2 separate regions of the Homo sapiens genome follow, and region 1 is linked to region 2. Evidence: promoter capture Hi-C in human tissues and cell types (Jung and others, 2019). All regions are on one chromosome and are shown on one strand. Each heading gives the region's core, a stretch centred on a gene start or on the middle of the fragment in contact. The rest is flanking DNA. Distances are from core to core; before and after follow the strand shown.

The links. Contacts are between HindIII fragments. The study calls those that stand out against the background at their distance.
Region 1: a contact is called between a fragment that was not itself captured here and the fragment with the promoter of MXRA7 in region 2, in 1 of the 25 tissues and cell types used here (mesendoderm cells).

Annotation. Positions count from the first base shown.
Region 1 is chr17:76,471,052-76,473,551 of GRCh38, reverse strand. RHBDF2 (rhomboid 5 homolog 2) reads left to right here. Exons shown (of 19, transcript NM_001005498.4): 16 at 225-300; 17 at 447-547; 18 at 713-866; 19 at 1,500-2,500. The coding sequence ends at 1,919. Among named protein-coding and RNA genes, the nearest start is that of AANAT, 4.7 kb to the right of the region's middle. RefSeq lists an enhancer at 1-254. The HindIII fragment of the contact is 4,257 bases long and covers 1-2,500 here.
Region 2 is chr17:76,708,995-76,715,817 of GRCh38, reverse strand. It overlaps MXRA7 (matrix remodeling associated 7), which reads left to right and starts at 4,853. Exons shown (of 4, transcript NM_198530.4): 1 at 4,853-5,213. The coding sequence starts at 4,872. It also overlaps a transcript of JMJD6 not described here. RefSeq lists a silencer at 4,622-4,831. The HindIII fragment of the contact is 3,325 bases long and covers 3,286-6,610 here.

The sequences.
Region 1 (2,500 bases), core at 1-2,500, 240 kb after region 2:
CGCTGGGCCGATGCCCTCCAATAACTGTCCTTTGCTCCCCTGCTCTGGGGCTACCCATGGTGCGAGCTGGAGGAAGGAAGCTTGCTCCAGAGTCGAAGGTTCTGGATGCGGCATCCCCCTTCCTGCCAGCGATGCCTCCTGTAGCCAGGTGCTGGGCTCTGGGCAAAGGTGGGCAGTGGTTATTCGGCGCCCTGATGTCCCCTCTTGCCTCACCACCCCCTTAGCTGTGAGATCACCACCCGGGAATACTGTGAGTTCATGCACGGCTATTTCCATGAGGAAGCAACACTCTGCTCCCAGGTGAGGCGAGGCAGGCCTGGAGTAGTGGAGGAGAGGACGCTGGGCATGGCAGCCTGCTGGGGCCGGGGCTCACGCACTCCCTCCCATGTCGGAGCCTCAGACTCAGCCTGCTTCTGGGGCGCTGAGCACCATATGCCCACTCCCAGGTGCACTGCTTGGACAAGGTGTGTGGGCTGCTGCCCTTCCTCAACCCTGAGGTCCCAGATCAGTTCTACAGGCTCTGGCTGTCTCTCTTCCTACATGCTGGGTAAGAGGCTCCTCACTGCCCCCGAACCCGACCCCTGTGATGGCCACCCAGCCGGACCCCTGGGGAAAGGTTCCTGGGCCAGGGCATGGCCGGCCCAACCTGCCGAAGCCTACTGCTCCTGAAGTGCCTGGCTGAAGGCCGCTGCCTGGTGTGTCCCTCCCCCAGCGTGGTGCACTGCCTCGTGTCTGTGGTCTTTCAAATGACCATCCTGAGGGACCTGGAGAAGCTGGCCGGCTGGCACCGTATCGCCATCATCTTCATCCTCAGTGGCATCACAGGCAACCTCGCCAGTGCCATCTTTCTCCCATACCGGGCAGAGGTAAGGATGTGGAGGATGGGACCCCTTCCGCACATAGGGGGCCAGCCCTGCTGCTCCTATTCCACCCACCTGGGATCTGCCAGAGGGACACGGTGCCCCTCCTGTACTGGGCTCCACAGCGGAGGGACAGCTAATCTGGGGGCTTACTGGCTGGTCTCTTAATCCCAGTGAGAGGGAACAGTGATGCTCTTGAGTCACCCTGTCCCTCCACCGCCTCATTTATCTTCCTAACCGTGCCCACTGCCTGACAGTATGCTAGGTATCTGCAGGTCGAGCGGTAGGAAATGGCCTCCGTGCGCCGTCGGCAGTCTGATCAGTTCCACCTGACTGATCTAGTTTGTTCAGTGTCCGTCCTCTCCCCACCGTGTGCGGCCTGGAACAGGCTTGTCTGTCTTGCTTATTGCTACGGACCCACACCAGGCACGTACACAGTAGGCGCTCAGTGTTTGCTGAAAGAATGGGCGGAGCAGGCCCAGCTTTGGTCCAGCAGCTCCAGCCGACCCCCTGCCCCTCAGCCTCAGGGGTCCCCATGCCTGCCAGGGAGGAGCTGATCGATGGGATGACCCAGGGTGCAGGCCCGGCCCAGGCCACCCACCTGATGCCTGAAGCCACGTCTCCCCTGCCCCGCCCCAGGTGGGCCCGGCCGGCTCACAGTTCGGCCTCCTCGCCTGCCTCTTCGTGGAGCTCTTCCAGAGCTGGCCGCTGCTGGAGAGGCCCTGGAAGGCCTTCCTCAACCTCTCGGCCATCGTGCTCTTCCTGTTCATCTGTGGCCTCCTGCCCTGGATCGACAACATCGCCCACATCTTCGGCTTCCTCAGTGGCCTGCTGCTGGCCTTCGCCTTCCTGCCCTACATCACCTTCGGCACCAGCGACAAGTACCGCAAGCGGGCACTCATCCTGGTGTCACTGCTGGCCTTTGCCGGCCTCTTCGCCGCCCTCGTGCTGTGGCTGTACATCTACCCCATTAACTGGCCCTGGATCGAGCACCTCACCTGCTTCCCCTTCACCAGCCGCTTCTGCGAGAAGTATGAGCTGGACCAGGTGCTGCACTGACCGCTGGGCCACACGGCTGCCCCTCAGCCCTGCTGGAACAGGGTCTGCCTGCGAGGGCTGCCCTCTGCAGAGCGCTCTCTGTGTGCCAGAGAGCCAGAGACCCAAGACAGGGCCCGGGCTCTGGACCTGGGTGCCCCCCTGCCAGGCGAGGCTGACTCCGCGTGAGATGGTTGGTTAAGGCGGGGTTTTTCTGGGGCGTGAGGCCTGTGAGATCCTGACCCAAGCTCAGGCACACCCAAGGCACCTGCCTCTCTGAGTCTTGGGTCTCAGTTCCTAATATCCCGCTCCTTGCTGAGACCATCTCCTGGGGCAGGGTCCTTTTCTTCCCAGGTCCTCAGCGCTGCCTCTGCTGGTGCCTTCTCCCCCACTACTACTGGAGCGTGCCCTTGCTGGGGACGTGGCTGTGCCCTCAGTTGCCCCCAGGGCTGGGTGCCCACCATGCCCCTTCCTCTTTCTCCTCCTACCTCTGCCCTGTGAGCCCATCCATAAGGCTCTCAGATGGGACATTGTGGGAAAGGCTTTGGCCATGGTCTGGGGGCAGAGAACAAGGGGGGAGACACAAGTAGACCTCAGGTAGAACG
Region 2 (6,823 bases), core at 3,604-6,103:
TCTAAATAACTAACTGGATGACTTTTTGGGGATTGACCAGCAGATGCCATCTCTTGCCCTCTTGATTCACCTGCTTGCCTTAATTTGTCCCTAAATTCAACTAAACTTCAATAAGAGGGGTTGTCAAGGCCATGGGGCGCACTTGGAAGCACTGCCTGGGCTGGAGCGTTGGAGGCATTGGCAGGCAGGTGGGAAGGAGCTCTCACTGCAGTGTTCACAGGCAGGGAGGCTGTGTGTGGATGTGTTAGAATTGTGTGCTGTTGCCTCTCAAAATATCCACTAGAAACAGGTGTAACCAGGAAAATACAGGTCTCTGCTCACTGTTATTAACAGACTGTCATTTCCTGACATTGGGTCATGTGGCTTTACTCTAGGAGGCTGGTTCTCTATTTTTGTCTTAGTTCAATTTTCTGCATCCTCAAATGCCAACCCCAGTATGTGGCTGGGTAGGTAGAACTGTGCTGCCTGCCTGCCATGGGGGCTGCTCTCCCTCCTTACCCCCACGCCCACAGCCCCCTTGGTTCTGTGGTGGGCACAGGATGTGTTTGGGTGTGAGTAAAGTCAAACTCTGAATGTATAATCTCTTGGTAGTAATATCTGAGTGGTGTTGCTACTCCTGCTTTTTAAAAAGACTTTTCTTGCCATCTATAAAAAGCTTTTTTCTTTTTCCCAGCATTGCTCCTGTGCTGCCACGCTTGCCCTTTTTCCTTACCTTCCTTTCAGTTTTCTATCAACAACTCCTCTAAACTTCAGTTTAAAATAAAAAACAGCCCAAAAAGGCTCTTTGCCACCAGGGGGCGTGGTAGGACACGTTGCCAGTGGTCTGGATAGGGGAGCAGAAATTTTGAATTTTAAAAATTAGCCACCAAGGCCAGGTGCAGTGGCTCACACCTGTAATCCCAGCACTTTGGGAAGCTGAGGCAGGGGGATTGCTTGAGTCCAGGAGTTCAAGACCAGTCTGGGCAACATAGTGAGATCCCATCTCTCAAAAAAATAATAATCTAGAAAATAAAGATTAGCCACCCAGTTTTCTTTCTCCAGATGCTAAAGTTGATTCCTGTTTGATAACAGTATTCCAGAAATGAGGGGAATAACATATCTGATAGGCCCAAGTCAGCTCTGGATAGTACAGTGTCTGGATAGTACAGATTCTGTGCTCCTGGGACATGCTTTGTTTATTCCTGCCAGGCCAGGGATTCAGCAGCCCTATTCCCCAACCCCCGTTACTGTCTCTGTGGGCTAGCCAGGCTGTCCGTTATGTAAGCACAACAGGGGCAAGGTGGGGAAACCGTGTGTGGAAAAGGAGTGGAGTGGTGGCGGGTGGCCAAGGTAGACTAGGAAGAGTGGGTACCCAGAGACCACTTGTTCAGAAGTTAACTCCTCTTCCCATCTGGCGTGAGCTACTCCATTGAATGGTGCCAACAACAGTAAAGTGAAGGAGATAATGTTAGATTATTTTCAGGGATGATTCTCCAAGATGACAGCAGATCTTAAAACCAAAGAGCTGGGTCCTGGAAGAAGGGATCTTGGATTATTAACTTCTGATGGAAGGACCAGAGTGGGAGAGAGAAGAGTTGGGGACCTAGAACATCAGGAGGACCCTGGGTCTTTGGGGATGAGGCTTCACCATCAGCTGGAAGAATCCATGCTTCACACACATGCCTCTGCCATTAGTGGTACTGGGATGTTTAGGGTGACATCCTTGAGGGGAGAGCCACTGAAAAGAGGGACATTCACATTTTGCTGTATTCTTGCAGCTGTCCGTGTCTTAATAATTCAAGCGTTCAATAGGTGTTTGAGGGCCAGGCACTGCTCTTGAGGTGCTGGAGATAACGGTGACAAGCCCAGGTCCCTGACAAGCTCCACAAGCTTAATGGACAGTGAATGTGCGGCTGTTGCGGCTGTTCACAGGGCCGCTGGTGAGGGCAGGTAGAAGAAAGTGCAGACCTTCTTAAATGCAGGTGTAACGGATCTACATGAAAGAGCATAATTAACACCAATGTATACTTAAGGTAGTAACAGCTTCTTCATAAAGTAGCAAAACTAAGGATCTGTGGGAAGGTTGCTGGTGCAAATGCTTTATAAGCTTACTAGAGACTGAGCCTTGGATTTAGGACTTTAGACGAGTATAGGATGGAACAAAATTTTTGCAGTAAATGTAAAAAATGCTGTGTAGGAGGAAGGCGTATAAGGATGCCCCAGCTGTAGGTTCTTTAGATTGTCTGTAGTATTTCCACGAGTAAGTTGTTTTTGATGTGTGTACTGGTATTGCTGGTAGATTTGAAGTGGAGTCTGGCGGCTTCTTCCACACTCCCCTCCCACTAGCTTGTGTCAAGATGTGACATCCTATGCAGCAAAACTAGGTGAGCTTGCACCCCCAGGCGGTGGCTCTCAACTTTGTCTCATTGTTCAGAAATTTCGGCCAGGCGCCGTAGCTCACCCCTGTAATCCCAGCACTTTGGGAGGCCATGGCAGGTGGATCACTTGAGGTCAGGAGTTCAAGACCAGCCTGGCCAACACGGTGAAACCCCGTCTCTACTAAAAATACAAAAATTAGCCAGGTGTGGTGGCACATGCCTGTAGTCCCAGCTACTTGGTCAACTCAGGCAGGAGAATCACTTGAACCCAGGAGGCAGAGGTTGCAGTGAGCTGAGATCAAGCCACTCCAGCCTGGGTGACAGACCGAGACTCTGTCTTTAAAAAAAAAGAAATGTCATCTAAGCCCCAGTGAACCTCCTGGGAGGAGAGCTAGCCCTGGCCAGCTGTCTCCAAAGTGACTGGATGCTACAGAAGAACTGGGACTGTCTTCTGCACACTCGTGCCTCCTGGAGTTGTCAGAACACTGAGCAGTCTCCTAGTTCTGCGTCCGTCTAGCCATGGGGTCTGCCATGAAAGCCTGTGGATCTGCTATTGGGTTGGTATTTTAAACTTTCACTTGGGTGAAACTTGTTCATCATTTTAAATAAAGCAACATGATTTGGAGTTGTGTTTTTGGCATTGTTTTGTCCTTATTTTCTTTCTTACTCATTTGAAAGTCAACAATGTACTTTGTCAGCAGAACAGGACTTTAAAAAAATGTATTTACACTTTAAAACAATGGGATGGAGCACAAAATTAAGGCCCTGGGCCAGGAGCATTGATGCACACCTGTAATCCCAGCTGCCCAAGAGGCTAAGGCAGGAGGATCACTTGAGCCCAGGATGTCGAGGCTGCAGAAAGCTATGATCATGCCTGTGAATAGCCACTGCACTCCAGCCTGGGCAACATAGTGAGACCCTGTCTCTTTAAAAAAAAAAAAAGAAAGAAAGACCCTGTCTCTTTAAAAAAAAAAAAAAAAAATTGGCTGGGCGCGGAGGCTCACGCCTGTAATCCCAACACTTTGGGAGGCTGAGGCAGGCAGATTGCCTGAGGTCAGGAGTTCAAGACCAGTCTGGCCAACACGGTGAAACCCTGTCTACTAAAAACAGAAAAAAATTAGCCGGGCATGGTGGTGGGCGCCTGTAATCCCAGCTACTCAGGAGGCTGAGGTGGGAGTTTCGCTTGAACCCGGGAGGTGGAGGTTGCAGTGAGCCGCGATTGCGCCACTGCACTCCAGCCTGGGCAACAGAATAAGACTCCATCTCAAAAGAAAAAAAATAGGCCCATACACTGGCTGAAACTTCCACAGTGGTTAAAAGCTAGTCGCCCGTAGATAAAGCCTATTTCACATTTTATAGTTTATAGGCTCTTTTCATCAACCACCACTAAAAGGAAGTGCATGGCCCGCTTAATATCGTGCAGTGCAGCAGAATTCAGCTCTCCCTGTTGCTGAGGGGTCTCGTTTGTGTATCTTCATTTAAAAAGAAGCACTCCATCTAATATCTGGTTTATATCACAGATCAGCTCAGGCACTGTAATATTCCCAAAAAAGTATTAAAGGCATCCTCAGCAAAAACTGGAACCGTGTTTTTTTTAACATTAGGCCTTATGTTTGGCGTGATACCTGACATGCCCGTCCTGTGTTTATTTAAAATAACTAAAGAGTGGGTGGGGAGTGGTAGGAAAGTATGTTTTTGGTTACAACGTGTTTATCTCAAAATCCACTGTTCAGCAACAGAGGCCTGGGAGGATCTGGAGAAACAAAAACAATAGCCTTCATTTCCTTCATTGTACCCTCCCACCCTGCATGCATTCTGGAATTGTGCAAAGAAGAAAGTCTGGTAAGAGGAATAGCGTTGACCAAGGACCTGCAGCTGAATTTCAGGTCTAGGGGCGGGGGAGCCATGTTACTGTTAACAGGGAGGCCTGTGTTGAAGGCTGCTGGCCTCAGCTCCGAAGGGAGCATTCACTGGCCGGGATCTGGAGATGTCCTCTGTGAAAGTGCATTAAGGCAACCCTGAGGATTAAAAGCAACTCCTGACATGCCTATAAAAACGGCAGTGGCTGAACGTAATCCGGCATTATGATTGCTTTACAAGCCAATCCAGGCTGCCGTTTCCATGAAGCTTCCCGGGTTTGCTTGTCTCTCTGCATTCCCACATTTCCAAAATGCTCTAAGACGAACCGCCGTACTAAGGCCAAAGATGACAACCTAAGGGCACCTCATACAGTATTTCAAATTGAACCTGAGCTAAATTGTGCCCCAAAGCGTCAAGGCTGCCCAGGCCGGGCAGGGGTTGGCCCTCCTGTGCCTCCCAGGTGGTCAGGGCTCTGCCCCCTCAACACCCCCGCCCGCAGCCTGTGCGTCACCCTCCCGGGGCCGGAGGGGGCGGGGGCGGGGCGCGGCGATGGGGGCTCCGCCCCGAGGCGGGGCGCGGCGACCGGGCGCGGCGACGGGGCGCGGCGGGCTCCCTCGGGGTCCCAGCTGGCCCGCACTCGGCGGCCGCGGCGCGATGGAGGCGCCGGCCGAGCTACTGGCCGCGCTGCCTGCGCTGGCCACCGCGCTGGCCCTTCTGCTCGCCTGGCTACTGGTGCGGCGTGGGGCGGCCGCGAGCCCGGAGCCTGCCCGCGCGCCCCCGGAACCCGCGCCCCCGGCCGAGGCCACCGGGGCCCCGGCGCCGTCCCGCCCCTGCGCCCCCGAGCCGGCGGCCTCGCCCGCGGGGCCGGAGGAGCCTGGAGAGCCCGCGGGGCTGGGGGAGCTCGGGGAGCCTGCGGGACCGGGGGAGCCCGAAGGGCCAGGGGATCCCGCGGCGGCGCCAGCGGAGGCGGAGGAGCAGGCGGTGGAGGCGAGGCAGGTACGCACCGGGGCCCTCGCGGCCCCCTCCCCACCCCCGGGGCTCCGGCTGCCGCTGCCGTTCCCCGCCGAGCCAGGGAGCGGGGCCGCGGCCTCCAGCCCAGGCTGCCCCCAGGAAGCGCAGAACCCGCGGCCCGCAGGAAATGCAGGTCCCGCCATGCTAAGCCGCAGCCCCGCAAACTCGCCGCCCTCCCCCAGAAAGTGTGGCGAGGGGCGAGCCCGAAGGAGTTTGTTTGGAGGTGTTTTGCTCTCCCCTCCCCTCGGCCTCTCCCAGCCCAGGGCGTGCTCCGCAGCTGCTGGCTCCCAGGCCTCGGGACCAGGGCTTGGAATTTTGCTCCTCACCCACTTCTGACCCCTCCCGCCCACCGGTTCCCAAATCCACGTGCCTGTGGCTTATTTCCAGGCCTGCCATGAGAGTTATCTTGATGTTTAAAAAGTAGGACTTTCGGGGGGCGAGGGAGGAAAGCTGGCTTTTCTTTTTCAGCCAATTTGAAGTCCAGATTTCAGAGTCAGTGCTGTGGCGTTTTGTGAAGCCCGTGGGCTGGGACTGAAAGAAAAGGCACCCGATCCCAGCAGTCCTTTTTATTGTCGTTTTCAAGCTACACATCTAACACCCTCCTACCCCCACTCCCCCGGGTTGTAGGTAAGCTGGGCCTGGATGGAGTGAAGATGCAGGATAAAGCCCTCCTGGAGCACCAGTGAGCACCCCAAAGCGGCCCTCCCTGCCTCTGCCCCAGGCCTCCCGCCATGCTGTCCATCAGCTCGGCCTTGGCCACCTTGTCCTGCCTGTGGATATCTGAGAGGAGTCGGATTTCCCTCATCCACTCATCCCAGCCCCTACACTGTGTGCCCATGTTCCCTGGAGTTCACCACGCTTGGCCGGTCCAGGCCACCGCCAGGGTCTCCGAGTCGGATTGTAATCCCTTGTTCTTACCCCTGAGCTCCTTTTCTTGGAAGGGAGGAGAGCCGGGATGCGCATTGTCAGCGTGCCTGCGTGTCTGCGTGCCCACTCTGTCCTGTGCTGGACACAATGGTTTACCCTGGAGAGAAGCCCTTCGGGGGAGGAGGAGGCAGCCAGGCTGTGCTCAGAGGCATTTCTCTTTGCTGAGTAAGTGCGCCAGACCCCCTCTGAGCAGGCGCTTTGCTTGACAAGTGGGTGACTAATTGTGTCATTAGAGAGGATTCTAACCAGCCACATTTAATGGGGTGGAGCAGGGGCAGGCCCTGCCGTTCTTGCTTGGGGTGGGCTTCCAGACCTCACGCGGTGATGGTGGAGGGGGCGCGGTTTGGACATGTGCTGATCTGTTGTGTTTGCTCCCATATTTGGGATTCCTGCCTCCATCGAGGTCTCGCGGGAGCAGGAGAGGCCTTTAGACAGTTCTGGAGCCGTCATGCACACTCAGTCAGTCCTGGCCTTACAGGGCTGGCCCTTTATCACCCACACCAGGCTCTGGACTGAAGTGCAAAATGTCCTTTAGCGGCGCCCTGTCTTAGCTCAATCCTGTGGGGCACAGCGCTTAAAGAACTTTCTACAAGGCTTTCGGCTCTCAGCACATGGTACCTACAGGAATAGGTTCAGTGGTGTTTAAATAGGGCCACTCGCATAATTTG